2 separate regions of the Homo sapiens genome follow, and region 1 is linked to region 2. The links are contacts of gene promoters, found by promoter capture Hi-C in human tissues and cell types (Jung and others, 2019). All regions are on one chromosome and are shown on one strand. The core of a region is centred on a gene start or on the middle of the fragment in contact, and the rest is flanking DNA. Distances in the headings are between cores, read along the strand shown.

Evidence for each region. The method cuts DNA at HindIII sites, captures the fragments that hold promoters and counts their contacts. A contact is called where the count stands out against the background at its distance.
Region 1: a fragment that was not itself captured here is called in contact with the fragment with the promoter of ZNF30 in region 2 in 1 of the 25 tissues and cell types used here (hippocampus).

What each region holds. Positions count from the first base shown.
Region 1 is chr19:34,683,621-34,690,458 of GRCh38, forward strand. It overlaps ZNF302 (zinc finger protein 302), which reads left to right. Exons shown (of 5, transcript NM_001289187.2): 5 at 632-2,776. The coding sequence ends at 1,617. Among named protein-coding and RNA genes, the nearest start is that of ZNF302, 9.4 kb to the left of the region's middle. The HindIII fragment of the contact is 3,944 bases long and covers 1-3,749 here.
Region 2 is chr19:34,922,968-34,928,940 of GRCh38, forward strand. ZNF30 (zinc finger protein 30) reads left to right here and starts at 3,936. Exons shown (of 5, transcript NM_194325.3): 1 at 3,936-4,249. ZNF30-AS1 (ZNF30 antisense RNA 1) reads right to left here and starts at 3,859. Exons shown (of 3, transcript NR_110749.1): 1 at 3,762-3,859; 2 at 575-867; 3 at 48-84. The HindIII fragment of the contact is 21,653 bases long and covers 1-5,973 here.

The DNA of each region.
Region 1 (6,838 bases), core at 528-3,027, 240 kb before region 2:
TGAACATATTAGAGGAAGTAAGGGACATATAAATGTTTCTAGGAATAATATTTTCTAATGTTCAAGAAAAATATGATTCACACAGTTTCTTCATAACCTCAGAAAGCCTATATCTTTGTCAGCTATAAAGAGCATTTACTTTGTTTTTACTGCAGTTGTTTAATATAGTAGTATCAATTCTGTATTTTAAGCTTGATAATCCAGCAGCAAATTGAGATTAATGGAAGGTTGGAAAAAAAGGCTATGAAACAAAATGCAACCTTTCCCACATGAATATAGGCACAAAATGATGATTTGTAATCCTGAATGCCTTCCACATCTTATTTCTGATACTTTCCTTTTTTCCATACTATTTTATCCATTTCGTACAGCTTACCCATTTCCTTTATCACACTCTGTTCCTGCTTCTGTGAACTTTGGATTCTCTGCTCTATTTGAGCATTGTTCAGAAGTCACTGAAATATTTGAGTTGTCAGAACTATGTGTTTTCTGGGTGCTTCATTTCTTATCCAATTCTCCTAATTCCACTGTAGAAGCTTTTTTCAAGAAGTAAAAAAAAAAAAAAAAAAAAAAAAAAAAAAAAAAAAAAAAAAAAAAAAAGGCAGTGCTTTGCTTTCTTGATATATTTCAGATTGGGAATCAAGATGGGAAAACAAGGAATTATCAACAAAGAAGGATATTTATGATGAAGATTCACCCCAACCAGTAACAATGGAAAAAGTTGTAAAACAAAGTTATGAATTTTCAAATTCTAATAAGAATTTGGAATATACAGAATGCGACACATTTAGAAGCACCTTTCATTCAAAGTCTACTCTTTCTGAACCACAAAACAATTCTGCTGAAGGGAATTCACACAAATATGATATATTAAAGAAGAATTTATCAAAAAAGTCAGTTATAAAAAGTGAGAGAATAAATGGTGGAAAGAAACTTTTAAATTCTAATAAAAGTGGGGCAGCCTTCAACCAGAGCAAATCTCTTACCCTTCCCCAGACTTGTAATAGAGAGAAAATCTATACATGCAGTGAATGTGGGAAAGCCTTTGGCAAACAGTCAATCCTCAGTCGCCACTGGAGAATTCATACAGGAGAGAAGCCCTATGAATGTCGTGAATGTGGGAAGACTTTTAGCCATGGTTCATCCCTTACACGACATCAGATAAGCCATAGTGGAGAGAAACCTTACAAATGCATTGAATGTGGGAAGGCCTTTAGCCATGGCTCATCACTTACTAACCATCAGAGCACTCACACGGGAGAGAAACCGTATGAATGTATGAACTGTGGAAAGTCTTTTAGTCGTGTGTCCCTTCTCATTCAGCATCTAAGAATTCATACGCAAGAAAAACGCTATGAGTGTCGTATATGTGGAAAGGCCTTCATTCATAGTTCGTCTCTCATTCACCATCAGAAAAGCCATACTGGAGAGAAGCCTTATGAATGTAGAGAATGTGGGAAAGCTTTCTGCTGTAGCTCACACCTTACTCAACATCAAAGAATTCACAGTATGAAGAAAAAATATGAATGCAACAAATGTCTCAAGGTCTTTAGTAGCTTCTCATTTCTTGTTCAACATCAGAGTATTCATACTGAAGAAAAACCGTTTGAAGTTTAGAAATGCAGGAAATCCTTCAACCAGCTTGAATCACTGAATATGCATTTGAGAAATCACATTAGATTGAAACCCTACGAATGCAGTATATGTGGGAAAGCCTTTAGTCATAGGTCGTCCCTGCTTCAACATCACAGTATTCATACTGGAGAGAAACCTTACGAATGTATTAAATGTGGGAAGACCTTCAGCTGTAGTTCAAACCTTACTGTACATCAGAGAATTCATACTGGAGAAAAGCCATATAAATGTAGTGAGTGTGGGAAAGCTTTTAGCAAAGGCTCGAATCTTACTGCCCATCAAAGAGTACATAATGGAGAGAAACCCAATAGTGTGGTAAGTGTGGAAAAGCCTTTAGATCATATGAATCCCTATACATGTGAGAAATCTTACAGAAGAGAAGCAGTGTTTATCACGGTAAACTTCATTCATAGATCCTCCCTTATTTAACATCAGAAAAATGTATACTGGGGAAAAGTTGTATGAAGGTGGTGAACATGGGAGACTTTTAGCAATGATGCAGATTTTTTTATTAGAGTTTATACTGTAGAGAAATCATATGAAGTCAATAAATGTGGGAAAGCCTTTGTCAGTATTAATCCCTTAATTGACCTAAGTATACTCACACTAGGAAAAATCTGTGTACATGTAGCAAATGTGGGAAAGACTATAGGCAATAGGAATCTCCTGCAAACTCCTACAGGAGAAAAGTTGTATGAATGTGGAAACTTTAGAAATTGAAGGAATTTTTCAGTTCCAAGTGCATCCCTTATTCTATAGGAAATAAACTGGAGACAAATCTCATTTAAGAGATGCAGCAAAGTGTTCACTAAGAGTGTTTATCTTGCCAGACATAAGAAGATGAATGGTAGAGCAACCTGAAGGATTTAGAAATTACATATAAATCTTTGCAGTTATGCTATTTGTAAACAGGATTATATAGGAGAGCAAATAAACATAAGTATGCATTTCTTAGAGCAGTAGCTTGCAGTTTCAGTTGAGTTCTACTTAGAAATTCTTTTTAGCTAGTGGGCATGTGAAGATATTTAGTCACCCAGAGGAGCCAGTAAATGTTATAATGTTAAAAATTAAAGCTGCAAAAGAAATAAAATGGTGTTAATAAAAATTTGGCATCTAATAAAATCATTTTGTATATCATGAACTCTTTCTCTGTGACTGTTTGCGACAAAAAAAAATTTCACTAAGATTAGCCTTAGTATAGCCTTTAGCGGGAGACTAGCAAACTTCGAGAAGAATGGCCTGCTCTTTATACTAAGAATAGCAGTATTTTGGTGAGGATTATTGAGTCCATATCCAGTAGGCTTAATTAAATACATTTCAAGAACATTTACTGAGCATTACTCATGTGTATTACACAGGGATGGGATAAAGGAATCTAGTAGTTCTGAGCTCTAGTGCTGTGTCGAAATCACTGGAAGGACGTGTTAAAGCACAGATTGCTAAGCCTCAGTCCTAGAGTTTCTGTATGAGTTGATTTGAATTTGCATTTTTCACACGTTCTTAGGGGACACTAACACTGTTTGTCCAGAATATAATAATAATGTTATGGTGTCACTGACAACATATTGTTTCCTCAATCTTACCTATTAACCATTTCTTGAGCATCTTCTGTGGACTTAAGAAACACTCCATACTCCTTAAGAGCTTCGAGATGTGTGTGTGTGAAGAGCATTAAGCTTTGGAGTCTTGTTACCTGGGTTTAAATCCAAGTTACATGTATACTGGCTTTGTGACCTTGGACAAACTGTTTCACTGGGTCATGCTGCAGTTTCTCCATCTGTAAAATGGTAATAAACCTATTTCACAGCATTATTATGAAAGTTAAATGAGTTAATTGATGCACAATGTTTACAACAATGCCTGGCCTCTCAATAGCATTCAGTAAGTATTAGCTATAGCTATTGATTTCATCATCATCGTCTTCTCATGGTTGCTTCATTATTCTGGTCTCAGATGTCACATCTAATCACTTGCCACTCTTATCTGTTTACTGTTTCACATTTTTGGGGGAGAGCATTTACAAAACACCCCCGTTTCCTTCCAACAAATCCTTTAGTATCTGAGCCATTTTGAGGGAATGTTTCTTGCCCAAAATAACCTAAGGAGAAACAAAGAGACCAGATAGGAGATGAGATGAGAATTCAGCAGGTCTCTGAGAAGGAAGAAGGATGCCCTACAGAGTTGGAAAATGGGCCGAGTGAAGGAGGCATCAGGCTTCCACATGGAGGAAAGGGGAGGGTTTACCCACTGAGACCAGAAGACTACAGGTCTTTGGCATCATCTCTGAGTACAGAGTCCCATGGGCTGGGTGCCACTGCCCTCACTCTTCCTGAATGGAGGTTACAGCCTGTCATTGAAGGTCACCGATGCCTGGAAAGTCAGAGTTTTCTTGTTAGCCTTGGGCCAGTCAAATGTGATTAGAACTCAGTTGCTGGTAAACATCTAGAAAGAACCAATGAACATATCACTGAGCACTTCCTGGGAGCTTAATTCTTTGCTGCTGAGGGGGAGTCAGTTTTTAAACAAATTGCAATTGTGTTAGAGGAAAAAAGCTTTATATGCAGAAGTAATTAATGGAAGATACAAGACAATGACAAGGCCGTGTGGCCCGTATGGCCCGAGAGGTGCTGAGGGTAAGCACTCTGGCATCAAAGAAATAGGGAAAAACTATAATGATCATAATACAATACCGTTAATAGCAGCAGCCACTGCGCCTTGTGTTTGCTTTGTGTGCTGCATTCAGACAATTAAATGCTGTCAGCTCTGGACACAAATTGCTAGGTGTGAATTCAGCCTATTGGGACTGTCGCTTGCTTATTCTATACACTTGGGGAAGTCACTTCATTTCCCGATGTCTCCATCAAAACAAAAATATTTCTCATCAGGTGGTTGTGAGAATTAAAAGATATATAAAGCAAGCAACAAAGTGCCTCTGCATGGAAGTTTGTTGCCGTGTTTTTCCTGCTTTCAATAATCTTCCCACATACTGTAAGGTAAATGCCATAATCATCTTTGTGCTAGTGAGCTGAGTGAGTCTCTCTCAGAGTCACACATCTTAGGAATATAGGCTACATTTGAACATTTAGTAAAAGACCACACAATATTGCCCTTCTAGGACAGATCTCAGAAGACTGGGATTTCTCTTGGCAACCATAAGGCTCTCTTGCCTCACTGAACAAAAAACATTTCCTTTGGCCATGCCGCTCCTTCTGCCTAGAATGTGTCCCATACCCCATTTATTACCACGCTTACCTGCCAAGGGAGGCCTGCCTACCTTGCAAAGCTCACTAGGTGTGTCAAAGACGAACAAAGCTGGACATTAATGACAGTGGTAAGAACAGACTAATTGATAACTATTGCAATGGGGAAAGGAATTTGGCATGAAGTCAACTAAGCTTTGATTTGTACAAAGGTAAATGAGTATGTTAAAGGGAGGGTGAAGAAATAGGGGGTGGTGAGGAGCGGTTCAGTGGAGTCAGAAAAGTGAAAAATTAGGAAGGGAGGGGGCTGGTCTATGTGCAGTCTTATCTGGGTTTGCTACTGGCACTTTTGAGTTAGGCTCATATCCTCCCACAGAGGCTGGGAGACAGGGGCCTTATCTTCAGGTGCTGGCTGGAAGAAATTCTTTGGACAGCCTTGAGTTTTTTGGAAAGGCACTTTAGGAGTCATTAGAAAATGTTAGTGTTGTTCAAGTCTCAATAGGCCACAGTTGACAGGCATATTCAAGAAGGCTCAGAGGGGCCTGGATAGAGTTTGGTCAAAGAAAATCTTTGTCAGGTGTCACCGCAGGCTTCTCCAGCCCACTGAGGAGGAATGGTGGTGAAGACAAAAGAACATAGGCAAGGGATCAAAGTACAGGGTGTGAGTTTCTGCCAAGAGTTGCGTGACCCTGAGAAGGTAACTTAAGTTTTCCAAATCTCAGGTTCCTTTTCTGTAAAGCAGGAATAATAGAAACTAACTCTGAGAAAATTGGGATTAAATGAAGTGCTACATAATGGTGCTACATAACGAGTTACCCTCAGAGCTCAATAAATGTAGCTATTATTGTTATTTAGCCTCTTTGCTCCCACACCACCCTGGAAAACCCAACCAAGTCCTGATCTCTACTTTTGTACGTGTGCCACATTCCCTGCACAAAGATTCCAGAAGATGAGAAATACTTAACCTAGAACCAGCAAGGCCGAAAAAAAAAAAAAAAGACTCTCCTACTAGGTGACATTGGTGCAGAACAGGGAAGGATGCAAAGGAGGAGAGGAGAGGGAGAGGCACTGCAGAGATCTGGACTCAGTGTCCCAGGCAGAGGGAAAGACTGGGAAGTCGGAAAGAGCTTGGAATGATCAGGACAGCTTGGCAGGAGAGCAGTGAGCAAAGGAAGATGGAGTAGAGGATGCATTTCTAGGACTGTTTCTCTTTAGAAATAGCATCCAGAATGTCCCTGAATGGTGCTGGGCACTGGGAACACACATTAAACATTAGCCATCTCTGGTACTCTCACCTAGAATGAATGATGGTTAATATTTCCCCTTTAAGCCTTCCTTAGGAAAATGGAGGTGAAAGGTAGCAAGGTAGCTTGCACAAGGCCACAGCCCTGAGATAGGGCACAGCACGATCCAAACATGTCTCTGGATTCTGCAGGCGATGCCTCTCCTGAGGATCTGCACATGCTGCTGTACGTGAATGGTGGGGGGTACTAAGAAGTTGTAGTTCATACTTCCCCACCACATACCACTGATTTCTAGAAAGAGGAATTTTCTCTTGTAATACTTGATGTAACTCTAGGACTCTGGACAGACAGTGACCCTATCAGCAGGAAGAGAAGGCCTGAAGAATCCCAGGATTCCACGATCTTCCATGTCAGTGTGCCACAGCCATGTGGTTGAGAGTCCAAGTATGTGAGACTGGGGGATAGTTAATACAACTGTGCTAGGAGGGAAGCGACTATATCAGTACTTCAGACTCAGCTGAACTCTCTCCCAGGCCCTGCAAAGGTGTCTAGATGGGTCCTATCCTTCTTAGTGGCCTTCCTAGCTTGGTCCCAAAGAGCCTCCTGCATCCACTGGGTGGTGTGGGCAGACAAGTCATGTGACAAATGGAAGTTCACCCTTGCAGTACCAAAAGTCCAGCCCATGATAATGCAGGCTGCAGGAAACACTCCTGTCCCAGGCTGTCATTTGGACATATGAAGCACATCCTTCTGGGTAAT
Region 2 (5,973 bases), core at 2,686-5,185:
TCCAGCTTCGGCTCGGCATCAGAGGGAGACCGTGGAAAGAGAGGGAGAGGGAGACGGGAGAGGGAGAGGGAGACCTTCTGAGGACTGTCAACATAAGTTATAACATAACATATATAACATAACTTGTTATGTTATATTGTATATAACATAACTTATAACATAACTTATAGCATAAGTTACATATATGTAACATAGGTTACATAACTTATAACACCTTATAAGTCACTATGTAACTTATAACATTTCCTTTATTATTTATTGTCTGCTTCTCTCAATTCAAATTAAGGTAGATAAATTTCTTTGTTCACACATCTAGAAATGCATCTGCAACAGGGCGGGTGCTCAGTTAGTATTTGTTAAAACACACAGGAACCATGGCTTTACACCTGTTTACTCTCTCTAAATCAACCCTCAATGATTCCTTTCCCTCCACATTTATGATTGTTCAATGTTATCAGGAAGAGAAATAAATCATAATTTGAAGAAACAAAAATTTAATGGTAGCCACAATTATAGTAGAACCATTACCTCAACTGAATTCCTCACATCTCAGAACTCAGGATTCTGTACTTACCTCCCACTGGGACGTATCTTTTCCAGGCATCACAGATAATTTTCTTCTCCAGCTATCTTATGATTCTTTTTGTATAATTTCATTAATCAACATTAACAGCCTTCTAGGAATTGCTCACTTCACAAATGTTTTTTGGAGGTAATCTCAGTTCCCTATGAAGACTCTGTCTCTGCACTTCCAGATGAGAGGAAAATCACTCCCAGAAAGAGATGAGACAATGGAATCCCAAGCCTTTATCTCAGCGTTCGGATGACCTCTCTTGACAAATGCACAAGATAATACAACTGCGGCCACTATCCTAGTTGGAAACACAATTTGGTAAGTGGTTATTCTTTTCAGATAAACGTATGGAACTTAGACGAAATATATTTCAGGAAATGCAGTGAGAAACATTATAAGGGGGAAAGTTCTGCTCTCCTAGATTAGAACATCACTGACAGTGGCCAGAGAAAGTTTCCTGAGGGATCAGGGACTGTCATTTTCCACTGGATGCTCAGATTCCAGCTGTAGGGTTTGTGAGTATCCTTCCTCCCTCTTCCATGAGACAGCCTCATCTGAAATCTCCAATTTACCTCTGACGATTAAACACCTAGACCCTCACTATAGTCACACAAGTCTTCACTCAAAACACAAGGGCATAGCAGTAAGATTGCGATCCTTAGCTGTCATCTATGGAGTGATCACTTTTGAGGGGCACTTTTTGAATAAATCATTTCAAAATCATTTCAAAAATTTTCTCAAAAAAAAAACCCTATGATTTAAAAATTTCTTTGACATTCTAAGTATTCTACTAATCTATTTTATTTCTACCCACCATGGAACCCACATTTCCCTCTGCAAAATACAAATTTCTATTGTATTCACCCCTCACCCCTGAACATAAATTTATCCTCCCAAACAAATTTCTGCCCAGATGACATTTTGACGGCTATTTACACATCCCCATCTCAGAGAGCACATTGTACATAATTTGGCCCTTAATGCAGCCTCTATGAAAAGTCCTTTAATCAGGGGACTAGATGAGTCCTTATTTGTCTTGAATGTCTCTAGTTCCTCCAGGACAGAAGTGATCAGTGACCACAGCCAGTTCAGGAATCACAGGATATTGCAAATTTGTCTCCGATTGACATGAATTGGGTGGATTCTCACTCCAGGTCTATCACCTTCTTATTTGTTAATGAAATATTTGTCTTCAGACATTGTAATAGATACCCAATGAGTTTCAGAGGGTTTGAAAATGAACACTTTAGACATGAATAGCCTATATGGTGAACTTACAGAGGCAAAGCGACTGGTCAACAAACAGCTGCTCTACCAAAAAAGCCTGGAGTTACAAAGCAGATGAACATTTTTGCAGAGCTGGAAACTAATTCCAATAAGGCTAAAAACTTGCTACTGCTGGTAGGGAAAATCCTAACTATTGACAGTCAAATGCTTTTGATGCGAGGCTACTTAGGTTGATGTTGATAAGAGAAAAGTTCCCTTGTCCCCCTGGCAGGGCGTGCGATGGGGGTGTGGCTCGCTTCTTCAGTGTCCCGCTGCTCAAACCTCCAGGGGAGTATACAGACGGGCGGGCTGTGGGGCTCTGACCCCATGGCAGTGTCTAGGGGTGAATGTTTATAGCTGAAGCCCCAGTGGGCGTGTTACAGGATGCTCTTTAGCTGTCCGCAGGCGGCTTATGTTAGTCAATTCAATTAGATCCCTGCGTTATCGCAAGGACAGAGGGCTTTCATATCCCGGGGTTCCTGTCTTGGTGTACCAGAAGAATCAGATCACACATGGGCTTGGAGGATGACTGCAGGGTTTTGAGTGGAAGTAGCTCTCAACAGTTGGGGGAGCCAGAAGGGAAATGGTTTTCCCCTGGAATCGGGCTGCTCCGCAGCACCGGCTCTCCTTGGACTGCCCCAGCCAAACTCCGCGTCCTTCTGGTGGGTGGCCTGCCCGCGTGCCAGCGTCTGTCATGTCTTCTTCCGCCAACATGTTCCTCTGGATGTCCAGCGGCTTGTGTGTCTGCTTGCTAGGGTCTCAGAGTATTTATAGGGACAGGATGGGGGCGGGAACAGGATGGGGGCGTGGCAGGCCAGGGTGGTCTTGGGAAACGCAACATTTGGGCAGGAAAACAAAAATGCCTGCCCTCACCTAGGTCAGTTGGCACAGGGCCAGGGGTGGAGCCCTAGCCAGGGACCACACCCTCCTGTACCCAGCACCTCCCTTTCCCCCTTCCATATCATTTAAAGGGACCCCGCCCTTCCCTCCCCAGCACTCCCCTTCCCCACCTCCTTATCAATGTCATCACCCTGGACTGACTCCAGGAATCACTGTAATGTGGGCTTAATAAGAACAGAGCTCGGCTGGCCGCGGTGGCTCACCCTGTCATCCCAGCACTTTGGGAGGCTGAGGCGGGTGGATCGCTTGAGCCCAGGAGTTCGAGACTAGCCTGGGCAAGATGGCAAAACCCCATTTCTACAAAAAATATACAAAAATTAGCCAGGTGTAGTGGCGCGCCCCTGTAGTCTCAGCTACTCTGGAGGCCGAGGTGGGAGAATCACTTGAACCTGGGAGGCAGAGGTTACAGTAAGCCGAGATAGCGCCACTGCATTCCAGTCTGAGCGACAGAGGGAGACCCTGTCTCAAAACAAAACAAAAACAAAACAAACAAAAAGCGGAGCTGACAGTCAAGGTGAATTTCACGTTTGCCTGTATTCAGTTTTAGCATTACATAAACCAAAAGAAGAATGCCATAAAGGCTACAGGCAGCTAATACAGAGAGGTGTTACTGGAAAAGGAACCAGAAAGAGTAAATATCTCCTAAACGTATGATGGGACAGAAAGATAAATGCCTATTACATATAGTTAATATCTGTTTGATTAGCCTTATTTACATTCTCCTTTTAAAAGGTCTTACATTTAGCATCTTAGATAGAACCCACAAAATTTAAATATTTAATAGAAACTTAAAATTCCTGTATCAGAGGACAGAAATATATTTTTCTCACACGTGATTAGTCTAATTGCCACTATTAATCCTATTAATATTCTGTTAAATAATAGCATTTCTGTAGCGAAAAGCAAACAGTACGGAAAGATAATTTCAAACACCTAGTTTTCATATTTTTGTGTTAAAGTAATAACATATTTTGGTATAGATTATCATTTTTTGTTTGTTTTTGTTTTTGCTTTTTCTGACCTGGTGTGTTAATGCCCTGGGTTGGCCCTCTAAGAAGCTGGCCACCTACTTCGGGCCTCAGGTGTCAGACGCCCCAGCTTCGAGGTCTATGGCTCCCAGCAACTCGAGCGCCTGCGCCTGCGCATTCTCAGCCGGACGGGAGCGCCCAGAAGTCTCCGGGCGCCGGTGGGCGGCCTTGTGGACTGCGCCGGGCATGCTCGGCGGTGTGACGGCTCAGGACTGCATTTCCCAGAGGCTGCAGCTATCCGGCCAATGTAGCCTGAAACTACATTTCTCAGCGGCCACTGGAACGACCTCAATCTCTGCCTCCTCGCCAGTTCATTGTGGTCGTTGACCCGGCAGCGAGCTTTGGAGTTCATCGAGGGAGAAGTCAGCGCCCAGCTCCGAGGTTGGAGCAGCCCCGCCGGGCAACTTGAATTTCTGCAAACGAACACAGCACCGGGAGCTCTGCAGACCTGTGTCGGCGCGGAACCCGGACTGAGACATGCGTGAGCGTTGGGTGGACCGGGCGAGGATCCCGGGCCGGCGAGTGCGGGAGCGGCAGGGCAGGGAGGGTGCGTCGGCCGGGGCCGGTGTGCATCCGCGAAGACTGGGTGCATGGCCTCCATGCGAACCTGAGCTATTAATATTTGTTACTATTTTGGATAAAATCACTGTAATTGATTTATGTAAAGGAGCAAAAGACTCTTCAACTCTCAGTTTAAAAAGGAAACGATAGTTATGATACCTTTTGCATGCAGCGGGAAGAAATGGGATTGCCAGGAAGCCTCTTCTTGTTTGGAAAAAACTGTATAAAGTATTTACACCTTTTAAAGATGAGAGCAATGTCATCTGAAAATTATCAGTGCAGGGAAAAGGACTTCAAAGGATCTGTTGTGCAGATTACTTAACTAATGACAAAATTATGTAAGAAAGGAGAGCAAGATGACAGCTGTAAACATTTCCATCAATCTCCATATTGCACAGAAATAGGACCCAGCTTTTTCTTAAGGTTCTTCAATTTTGCATTATCCCACAGCAGTAGCTCTCTCTCTCTAGCTGCTAGGGGACAGAGGAAATTGAAATGTCAGAGAATCTTTTCTGTTGGTTTTTTATTTGTTTGTTTTTAAAGAAGAGTTGCTCTTAATTTTTTAGTTAGAATTAAAAGAAAGCATGCCAGAGAAACTTACGTTTTAAGTAAAAAGTGGAAACAGGTCGGGTGCCATGGCTCATGCCTGTAATCCCAGCACTTTGGGAAGCTGAGGCGGGTGGATTGCCTGAGCTCAGGAGTTCGAGACCACCAACATGGCAACATGGTGAAACCCCGTCTCTACTAAAAATATAAAAATTAGCCAGGCATGGTGGCGTGCGCTTGTAGTCACAGCTACTTGAGAGGCGGAGGTGGGAGAAGTGCTTGAAGCTGGGAGGCGGCGGAGGTTGCAGTGAGTGGAGATGGCACCACCGCAATCCAGCCTGGGCGACAGAGCGAGATCCCTTCTCTAAAAAAAAAAAAATATATATATATATATATATATATATATATATATAGATAGATAGATAGATAGATACATAAATTAAATTAAGTGGAAACAAGTGTTTAATTAAAATGAAATAAAGGATGTATAATGTTTACGTAATAACTCCAATGCAGTAGTGCCCCCTTAATCGGCAGTTTCACTTTCTTCACTTTGTTACCCTCAGTCAACCATGATCTGAAAATAGGTGATTTTGGTACAATAAGATATTTTGAGAGAGAGGGGCCATGTTCACATAACTTTTATTACAGTATGCTATTATAGTTGTTCTATTTTATTATTAGTTATTGCTATTACTCAATTATGGTGGCCGGGTGCGGTGGCTCACGCCTGTAATCCCAGCACTTTGGGATACTGAGATGGGTGGATCAATTGAGGTCAGGAGTTCGAGACCAGCCTGGCCAACATGGTGAAACCCTGTCTCTAGTAAAAATACAAAAATTAGCCAGGCGTGGTGGTGGGCACCTGTAATCCCAGCTACTTGGGAGGCTCCCAGGAGGTGGAGGTTGCAGTGAGCCAAGATCACACCACTGCACTCCAGCCTGGGCAACAGAGTGAGACCCTGTCTCAAACAAACAAACAAACAGAAAAATAAAAATCTCTTATGGTGCCTAATTTATAAATTAAACTTAATCATAGGTGTGTATGTATAAGAAAAAACATAGTATATATGGGGTTCCGTCAGACATCTACTGAGG